Linked DNA regions of Homo sapiens: all the other regions are linked to region 1. Evidence: promoter capture Hi-C in human tissues and cell types (Jung and others, 2019). All regions are on one chromosome and are shown on one strand. Each heading gives the region's core, a stretch centred on a gene start or on the middle of the fragment in contact. The rest is flanking DNA. Distances are from core to core; before and after follow the strand shown.

What was found. The method cuts DNA at HindIII sites, captures the fragments that hold promoters and counts their contacts. A contact is called where the count stands out against the background at its distance.
Region 2: a contact is called between a fragment that was not itself captured here and the fragment with the promoter of SYNPO2 in region 1, in 2 of the 25 tissues and cell types used here (IMR-90 fibroblasts and aorta).
Region 3: a fragment that was not itself captured here is called in contact with the fragment with the promoter of SYNPO2 in region 1 in 2 of the 25 tissues and cell types used here (aorta and bladder).

What each region holds. Positions count from the first base shown.
Region 1 is chr4:118,887,428-118,890,127 of GRCh38, reverse strand. It overlaps SYNPO2 (synaptopodin 2), which reads right to left and starts at 1,274. Exons shown (of 5, transcript NM_133477.3): 1 at 987-1,274. The coding sequence starts at 1,091. The HindIII fragment of the contact is 17,765 bases long and covers 1-2,700 here.
Region 2 is chr4:118,812,540-118,815,239 of GRCh38, reverse strand. SEC24D (SEC24 homolog D, COPII component) reads left to right here. Exons shown (of 23, transcript NM_014822.4): 6 at 85-212. Among named protein-coding and RNA genes, the nearest start is that of SEC24D, 22 kb to the left of the region's middle. The HindIII fragment of the contact is 4,377 bases long and covers 1-2,700 here.
Region 3 is chr4:118,976,276-118,979,128 of GRCh38, reverse strand. All of the region lies in intron 1 of SYNPO2 (synaptopodin 2), which reads right to left. SYNPO2-AS1 (SYNPO2 antisense RNA 1) reads left to right here. Exons shown (of 3, transcript XR_939120.3): 2 at 517-578. Among named protein-coding and RNA genes, the nearest start is that of SYNPO2-AS1, 7.0 kb to the left of the region's middle. The HindIII fragment of the contact is 3,224 bases long and covers 1-2,853 here.

The DNA.
Region 1 (2,700 bases), core at 25-2,524:
AGTAAAAGCCAGAGGGAAACAAACAATAACTACAAAGGCAATGGCCCATGTATTTCATAAAGATCTGTACCCATTTTTAATATAAGCATAAAATAGGAAATTAATCCCATGCTCTTGCATGTTCTTCAATACAATACTATAATTTGCAATTTGATGATAAGGTTAGGTAAAAGTTTGCTTAGTTTTGTGCATTTTAAGTTTTATTTTAGCTGAATGCCAATTAGAGAATACCAGATCCCCTTGGGCTAACCAGTAATGCAGGCAATCTAATGGCAATAAAAACTTAAAGCATTTTAAATAGTTATTAATGTGTTACAAAGTTACCTCTTAGTTACTCATAATATATTTAGATTATCTTCTAAGTTTATTTTTGAGATCTTGACCAAAAGAGTACATAAGAAGGAATACAGCATTTATTGGATTTTTGCATTTATTTGTCAAATCCTTAAAAGGGTATTCTTTTAAATAGATTTTATGACACTTCATCATACTTTTAAAATTATTGCCCAACATTGGCCTTTTCATGAATGCTGCATAATAAATGTCACTACCAACACTCTATATGAGTCCCCAAAATAGCCAAGCAAAGTCGTTATGCTGAACTGAGCGTTTCTCCTCTGCCAGAGCCAAGTGAAGTGACATCAAACAATAACTCAACTGAACATTCTAAAATTGCCTGGAAGAAACGCTCCCCAGTGTCTTGCTTGTTGTCAGAAGAACATGGTTAACTAGGCCTTTTCCTCAGCTGATAAATATGGCATTCTTCCCACCCACCCCTCATCGATTGCAAGTTAATTACATAGGATGTGGCCCATTACTCTCCAAAGTTTCTTAGAAAATAACTCACTTCCTAGAAAAATCTTAATATCCGCAGCAAAATCAAATAATACTTAGACTTCTGCATCAGAACCTGAAAACACCATCAGCAGGTTGCTTTCATTCCTTCCTTCCTAGCACAGAGCCGTGACACTTCGTTCAGGTCCTACCTTTGCAACTTGTAAGGGCTGCTTCTGCTCCTTGCCACCTTGCAATCTGAACCCCCAGGGCGCCCCTCCAGTCATGGAAATGCAGATAAAATCCCCTGTGCCCATGTTTTCCTTTTAGTTGGGCAGCATGAAGAGCTTGACGAGACAGACGAAGCTTGGGTGCGGTAGAGGATGCGCACTCAGCTTCGGGCGCCTGCCGAGGACGCAAGACTGGGTAATGCAGAGCGTCCGCCGCTGCTGCAGCCGCTGCCCCAGCCGCCGCCCCAGCCGCCTGCTGCGAATTTGTGCGGCTAATGGGCTCATTCTCAAGGAGGCAGAGGCGCTCGCAGCATCCAGGACACAGCCCACTCTTGCGTCACTCTCCTTTGCTCGGCCCACCTTCGAGGAAAGGAAAGCAGCTTCACACACAGGAGAATGTCCTCACGTGGGGCGAGATAAGGGAAAGGAGGACGGAAGGGAGAGCCAAAGTTATCTTGCACTAACAGATTAAATCCAAGCAGTTAATGGTATAAGTATGATTGAAAAACTTACATTTAATAATTCTGTAAATAGTAAAGGACACATGAAGGTTTAATCTCCACGCCATGAATGACGTCCTAAAATAGGAGCGTTGGGAATTCAACTACTAGAGGATTAGATTCTCTCAAATAAATGTTTTGAGACTTGCCACATTTATGAATGGAATAGACAAAAAAGAGTTAAAATGAGTTAAATTACTACTTTTCTGTCTGCATTCTGCTGAATTATTCCTATAAGAGGAAACAAAAGAAAGCACAAACTTTTTGTTAATAAACCTCCAGCTCTGAAAAGTACCTTTCTGAACCATATATTTAGAGAAAGGGGAAGAGAAGAGACAGAAAGGGAGAGAGAAAGAGAGAAAATGAATATGAATTTTTCTCCTGGAAACTACATTCTTATAATTACATCTATTGCATAGTTTTGGGTATGTTAAATTTTAACGTGTTTTGTTTTCTTTCTACCTGCTGATCTTCTTAAACCCAAACCCAACAGTTAGTCAACTGCATAAAATGTACAATGTCACCTACAGGTTTCTTATTTTTATAGTTTGTCATCCCATGTCATGAATCTGGGTGGTCCAATATAAAAGCAGATTTTGTATATTCCAAATATTTAAATGTTTTAAATCTGAATACAATCTGCCAAAAATGTACAAAAAGGACATTTTAATTTTCCTATAATACTTTTGTTTTCCATAACATTCATCCACATAAAAACATACTAAATAAGGAAGAGCCTGGGAAAGTTTGTTTGTGTTACTTGTGGTACCAAACAAAATTTCCAGACACGCTGCCTGTTTCAGCACTAAGAAGCACTATATACAGTAAGTCCTCACTTAAAACGTCACAGATAGGTTCATGGAAACTGTGACTTTAAAACCAATTTTACCATCGACTAATTGATAAAAACAAGGTTAAGTGACTACAGTCTATTTCTGGTCACAAAGACATCACCAAACTTTTAAATAAGATTAAAACACTTCTAATATTAAACATGGAAATAAATGTCAGCTACACATGCATTTAAGAAAGATTAATAAAAACAAGATAATCATGGACCCAATTTTTGGTGAATCAGTGAGTGAGGGCAGCTGTAGTGGTGGTGGATTCAATCAAGGAATAAATGTTTGCAAAAGGAAAATTATAAGGAGTACCTCCTGTCACAATGCAGTTCAAAACCACCACAAATATAGCAG
Region 2 (2,700 bases), core at 146-2,645, 75 kb after region 1:
GACTGAACAGCATAATATCGTCAACAAGTCTTACATGCTGGATTTGGGATGATAGTCATTTCTCTTTAAATTTTTTCCAAGCAGCCAACTCTGGTCCCCAGATGGCAGGCGCACAACTGTCTTACCCAGGAGGCTTCCCTGGAGGTCCTGCACAGATGGCTGGTCCGCCACAGCCCCAGAAGAAGCTGGATCCTGACTCTATCCCTAGCCCAGTAAGTACTCTTCTCACTCTCACAGTCTCACTCACAAAGGAGCATTAATTTTTCTCAGCAACTCATCAGTTTGTTAGCATTTATCCTGTTCATTAGCATAGAAGTTAGGAGATACTCATCACATAGAGGGAAGGCTTCCTTCCTTATATGCATGTATGGGGGAAAGCATGCTAGGGTTATGGGCATACTAAAGGTCTCCATGAAAGAGCAGCCTGTGCTGATTTTTTTTTTCTTTTTTTTTGGTGTCATATAAACTTGGCAGTGTCTACAATGTTTACATTGACATATTTTGGCAGTATCGCTATCTAATGAGTAATTAACAGACTATATCCTATAGAAATATGCTATTTTAGATAACTAAAGGATCCTTTTCAATAAGAGAAACCCATAGAGACTGAAAGTATATTTTACATCTTGCACAATAAAAAAACAAATTTTTTTTAATGTAAAGTTAGAACTAAACTCTTCACTCAAGTGATTTCTTTGGAGGGTTACTCTTTAATAATTTTATCAGTCAAGCTTTGCAAGGCCATTCTGCATAGCAAACAATCCCCAACTTTGCTTACAACTGCAAAGATGTATTTATCACTCAGTTTACATGTAGGCTGTGGCAGCTGCAGATTGGATTTAGGCTCTGCTTCATCCGTCCTTATCATTCCAAAATCCAGCGTGAAGAGGCAAACACTACTGAGGACATGCTATTTTGTGGCATAGGGAGGAAACAGAGCTGGCCAAAATGTGCAACAGCTCTTAAAGCTTCCACTCATGTGTGGCATGTGTCATAACCACTCATGTGCCCTTGGCTGAAGCAAGTCATAAAACAAAGCCCAATGTCACTGAGACAGGGAAGCTGCCAATCTTATGGCATTGGGATGTAAAATCCTTTTGGAATAATAACGAAATTGGCTACAGTTTATTTTGTGTCTTTGAATAGGTTCGATAAACATAAGTACTTGAAGAATTAGAAATAAAGGAGCAGGAAAAGCTACCATATTAGCTAACTTATGCTGTGTAACCAACTGCTACAAAACAGTAGCTTAGCACTACTGTTTATTAATACTCATGACCCAGTGGGTTCCCGGTTTTTCTAATCTGGGCCAGGTTCATCTGATTTTGGCTGAGCTTGCTCATGCATCTGGGGTCAGCTGGAGGCTTGGCTAGAGTGTGGATGGTTTAGGATAATGTATTAGTTTCCTGTGGCTGCTGTAACAAATTACCACAAATCAGGTGACTAAAAACAACAGAAATGTATTCTCTCACAGTTCTGGGGACCAAAAGTCCAAAATCAATATGTTGGCAAGTGCTGTGGTTTGAACATTTGTCTTCTCCAAAACTCATGTTGAAACTTAATCTCCAGTGTGGCAGTGTTGAGAGATGATTGGGTCGTAAGGGCTCTGCCCTTGTGAATGGATTAATCCGTTCATGGATTAGTGGGTTAATGGATTAATAGGTTATCATGGGAGTGGAACTGGTGGCCTTATAAGAAGAAGAAAAGAGACCTGAGCTAGCACGCTCAGCCCCTTTGCCATGTCATGCTCTGTGCCGCTTTGGGATTCTGCAGAGTCTCCACCAGAAGAAGGCTGTCACCACATGTGGCCCCTCAACCTGGGACGTCTTAGCCTCCATAGCTATAAGAAATAAATGTCTTTTCTTTATAAATTACTGTTTCAGGTGTTATAAGCAATGAAAAACGGACTAAGCAGGGCTGTGCTGCCCCTGAAGGCTGTAGAGGAGAATCTGTTCCTAGGCTCTTTCAGCTTCTGGTGGCTCCAGGTCTTCCTTGGCTTGTGACCATGTGACTCCAGTCTCTGCTTCTGTGGTCACATTGAGTCCTCCTTCTCTTTGTGTCTTCTTCTCTGGGTGTCTGTCTCAAAATTCCTCTGCCTCTTTCTTATACATGTGATTCCATTCAGGGCCAGGATAAGCTCCTCCTCTGAAGATCCTTAACTTAATAAAATTATTTTGCCATATGAGGTAATGAAATGGAAAAGGTTCCCTCGTGCCCCTTGGAGGGCATGCAGTGGGGGTGTGGCTCGCTTCTTCAGTGCTCCAAAGCTCAAATCTCTAGGGGAGGATACAGATGGGCAGGCTGTGGGGCTCCGACTCCCATGGCAGTGTCTAGGGGTGAATGTTTACAGCTGAAGTCCCAGTGGGCGTGTGTTACAGGGTGCTCTTTTAGTTTGCCGTCTATAGGTGACTTGTATTAACCAGCTCAATTAGACCCCTTCCTTATCACAAGGACAGAGGGATTTCTGTATCCCAGGTTTTTGCCTTGCTGTACTGGAAGAATTGGATCACACATGGGCTTGGAGAATGAGTGCAAGGTTTTATTGAGTAGAAGTAGCTCTCAGCAGGTGGGGGAGCCAGAGGGAGATGATTTTCCTCTGGAGTCCCACCACTCAGTGGCCCTGGGTCTCCGACTGCCCCGGCCAAACTCCGCCTCTTCCCATGTCTGTCAGTGTGCTCTTCCACTGGCATTCTCCCTCCA
Region 3 (2,853 bases), core at 350-2,849, 89 kb before region 1:
GAGAGGTGCCATGGAGCTGCAAGCCAGAAAGCAAAATGCACAGAACGATTGGAAAGCGAAAGAGGCCGATCCAAAATCACCTCTGGAGTATATCGCATCAGTACAGGTGTTAAACAATAAAGATTTCAACTAGAGCAATGGCATCAGAAATGATGTAAGAATGCGCTATGTGTGCGGGCCAGTGTTATTGAAAAGCAGAATTCAATTCAAGGGCACTACATAGGATAAAACAATAAGTTGGACAAGGGAGTCCTATACATAAAAAGGTTACAGGCACTTTTCAACAAATGGGCTAAGTGTGTGTGTGTGTGTGTGTGTGTGTGTGTGTGTGTGTGTCATGGCAGGAGTATTTCACATGAAATACACAGGTATATTTGTACCTATGATTAGTCTTAAAGTCCTGGCATCATTTCTCAAAATAAATAACATTTTTTAAAAAATCTGGAAGCAGGGAGATTTGATTGGGCACTGATAATCATTACCTTGTAAATGAAGTTGAATGTTTTTCCGTTTCAGGAAATCATTGGGACAAGTGGAAAATCCATTGGAATACACATATATATAGTAAACAGAACAAGGTAATATAAATTACCCTGATTATTCATAAGCCAACTGGTGACGAGGATAAGGTATAGCCGAAGTTTCCCTGCAAATGGTTTGTCATGTTTTTCTTGTCAAAAAATTAATGCTAGACCCAACTCTTTTGTGTTTTACTGCACTTTTTACTATGCTAGGGAAACGGTCATATTTTATTTTTGATGCAACTGAACAATTAGAGAAAATGATTATCTAGAATTCTAAAAAGTAAATAAAATGACAACAAGATACAGTAATTCAATCAATCAGCAACTGCAGGTTAAATGCTTGCTTTGAGGGCAACTTTGGGCTAAATTGTGGGGAACAAAGGGAAAGATGTGACTTGGCTCATTCCTAGAGAAGCTTGAAATTTAGATGGGCAAATCTGGCCAAGAAGCAAGTTGCAACTAGAAAATCAATAAGTTATGACATCATAAGCCATTGACGTTTTCAAGGAATTCACCCAAAGATCTTAGAAAATTCCCAATCCACAAATTCTACAGTAGCATATAATTCCCTCATAAAATATTCATGCAACGGCAACTTGATAACAACAAAACTATGTTGGACTATATATGAGGTCCTATTTGCTGGGTTCACTCACTTGGCTAGTAACCTACTACCTGGAACCAGGCTTGCAGAACTCCTGAGTGGAAGTTATGTCTTTGCAAAATTATAAGTGGCAATGCCATAAACCTACAGGGTTGCTTTAGAGATGTCAAAAGTGGGATTGCTAACACTGTACAAGGTCAAGCACTACTCACCATGATATACGTTCAAAGAAGGCCTACATAATGCAGAAATTTCTATAGGGCAGAGTTGATGCTCCACAGACAAGGTAGGATTATGATCCAGACATGTCTGATTTCTAGCCTCTGAAGCTCTTCCCTGCCATCAGGAGAATGGCTGGATCCCACCCACAAGGCTAGTGTCTCCTCAAGTTGAGAGGTGACAGCATGCTGGCAGTCCTCAGAGCCCTCGCTTGCTCTCGGCACCTCCCCTGCCTGGGCTCCCACTTTGGTGGCATTTGAGGAGCCCTTCAGTCCCCTGCACTGTGGGAGCCCCTTTCTGGGCTGTCCAAGGCCGGAGCCCACTCCCTCAGCTTGCAGGGAGGTGTGGAGGGAGAGGCGTGAGCGGGAACCGGGGCTGCGTGCCGCGCTTGCGGGCCAGCTGGAGTTCCGGGTGGGCGTGGGGTTGGCAGGCCCCGCACTCGGAGCAGCTGGCCAGCCCTGCGGCCTCGGGCAATGGGGGACTTAGCACCCAGGCCAGTGGCTGCAGAGGGTGTACTGAGTCCCCCAGCAGTGCTGGCCCACCGGCGCTGCGCTCGATTTCTCCCCGGGCCTTAGCTGCCTTCCCACGGGGCAGGCCTTGGGACCTGCAGCCCGCCATGCCTGAGCCTCCCACCCCCTCCATGGGCTCCTGTGCGGCCCGAGCCTCCCTGACGAGCACCACCCCCTGCTCCACGGCGCCCAGTCCCATCGACCACCCAAGGGCTGAGGAATGCGAGCGCACGGCGCCGGACTGGCAGGCAGCTCCAGCTGCAGCCCCGGTGCGGGATCCTCTAGGTGAAGCCAGCTGGGTTCCTGAGTCTGGTGGGGACGTGGAGAGTCTTTATTATCTAGCTCAGGGATTGTAAATACACCAATCAGCACCCTGTGTTTAGCTCAAGGTTTGTGAGTGCACCAATCGACACTCTGTATCTAGCTGCTCTGGTGAGGACGTGGAGAACCTTTATGTCTAGCTCAAGTATTGTAAATACACCAATCGGCATTCTGTATCTAGCTCAAGGTTTGTAAACACACCAGTCAGCACCCTGTGTTTAGCTCAAGGTTTGTGAATGCACCAATCGACACTCTGTATCTAGCTGCTCTGGTGGGGCCTTGGAGAACCTGTGTGTGGAAACTCTGTATCTAACTAATCTGATGGGGACGTGGAGAACCTTTGTATCTAGCTCAGGGATTGTAAATGCACCAATCAGCGCCCTGACAAAACAGGCCACTCGGCTCTACCAATCAGCAGGTTGTGGGTGGGGCCAGATAAGAGAATAAAAGCAGGCTGCCCTAGCCAGCATTGGCAACCCGCTAGGGTCCCCTTCCACAGTGTGGAAGCTTTGTTCTTTTGCACTTTGCAATAAATCTTGCTACTGCTCACTCTTTGGGTCCACGCTGCTTTTATGAGCTGTAACACTCACCGCGAAGATCTGCAGCTTCACTCTTGAGACCACGAGCCCAGCGGGAGGAATGAATAACTCCAGACGCGCTGCCTTAAGAGCTGTAA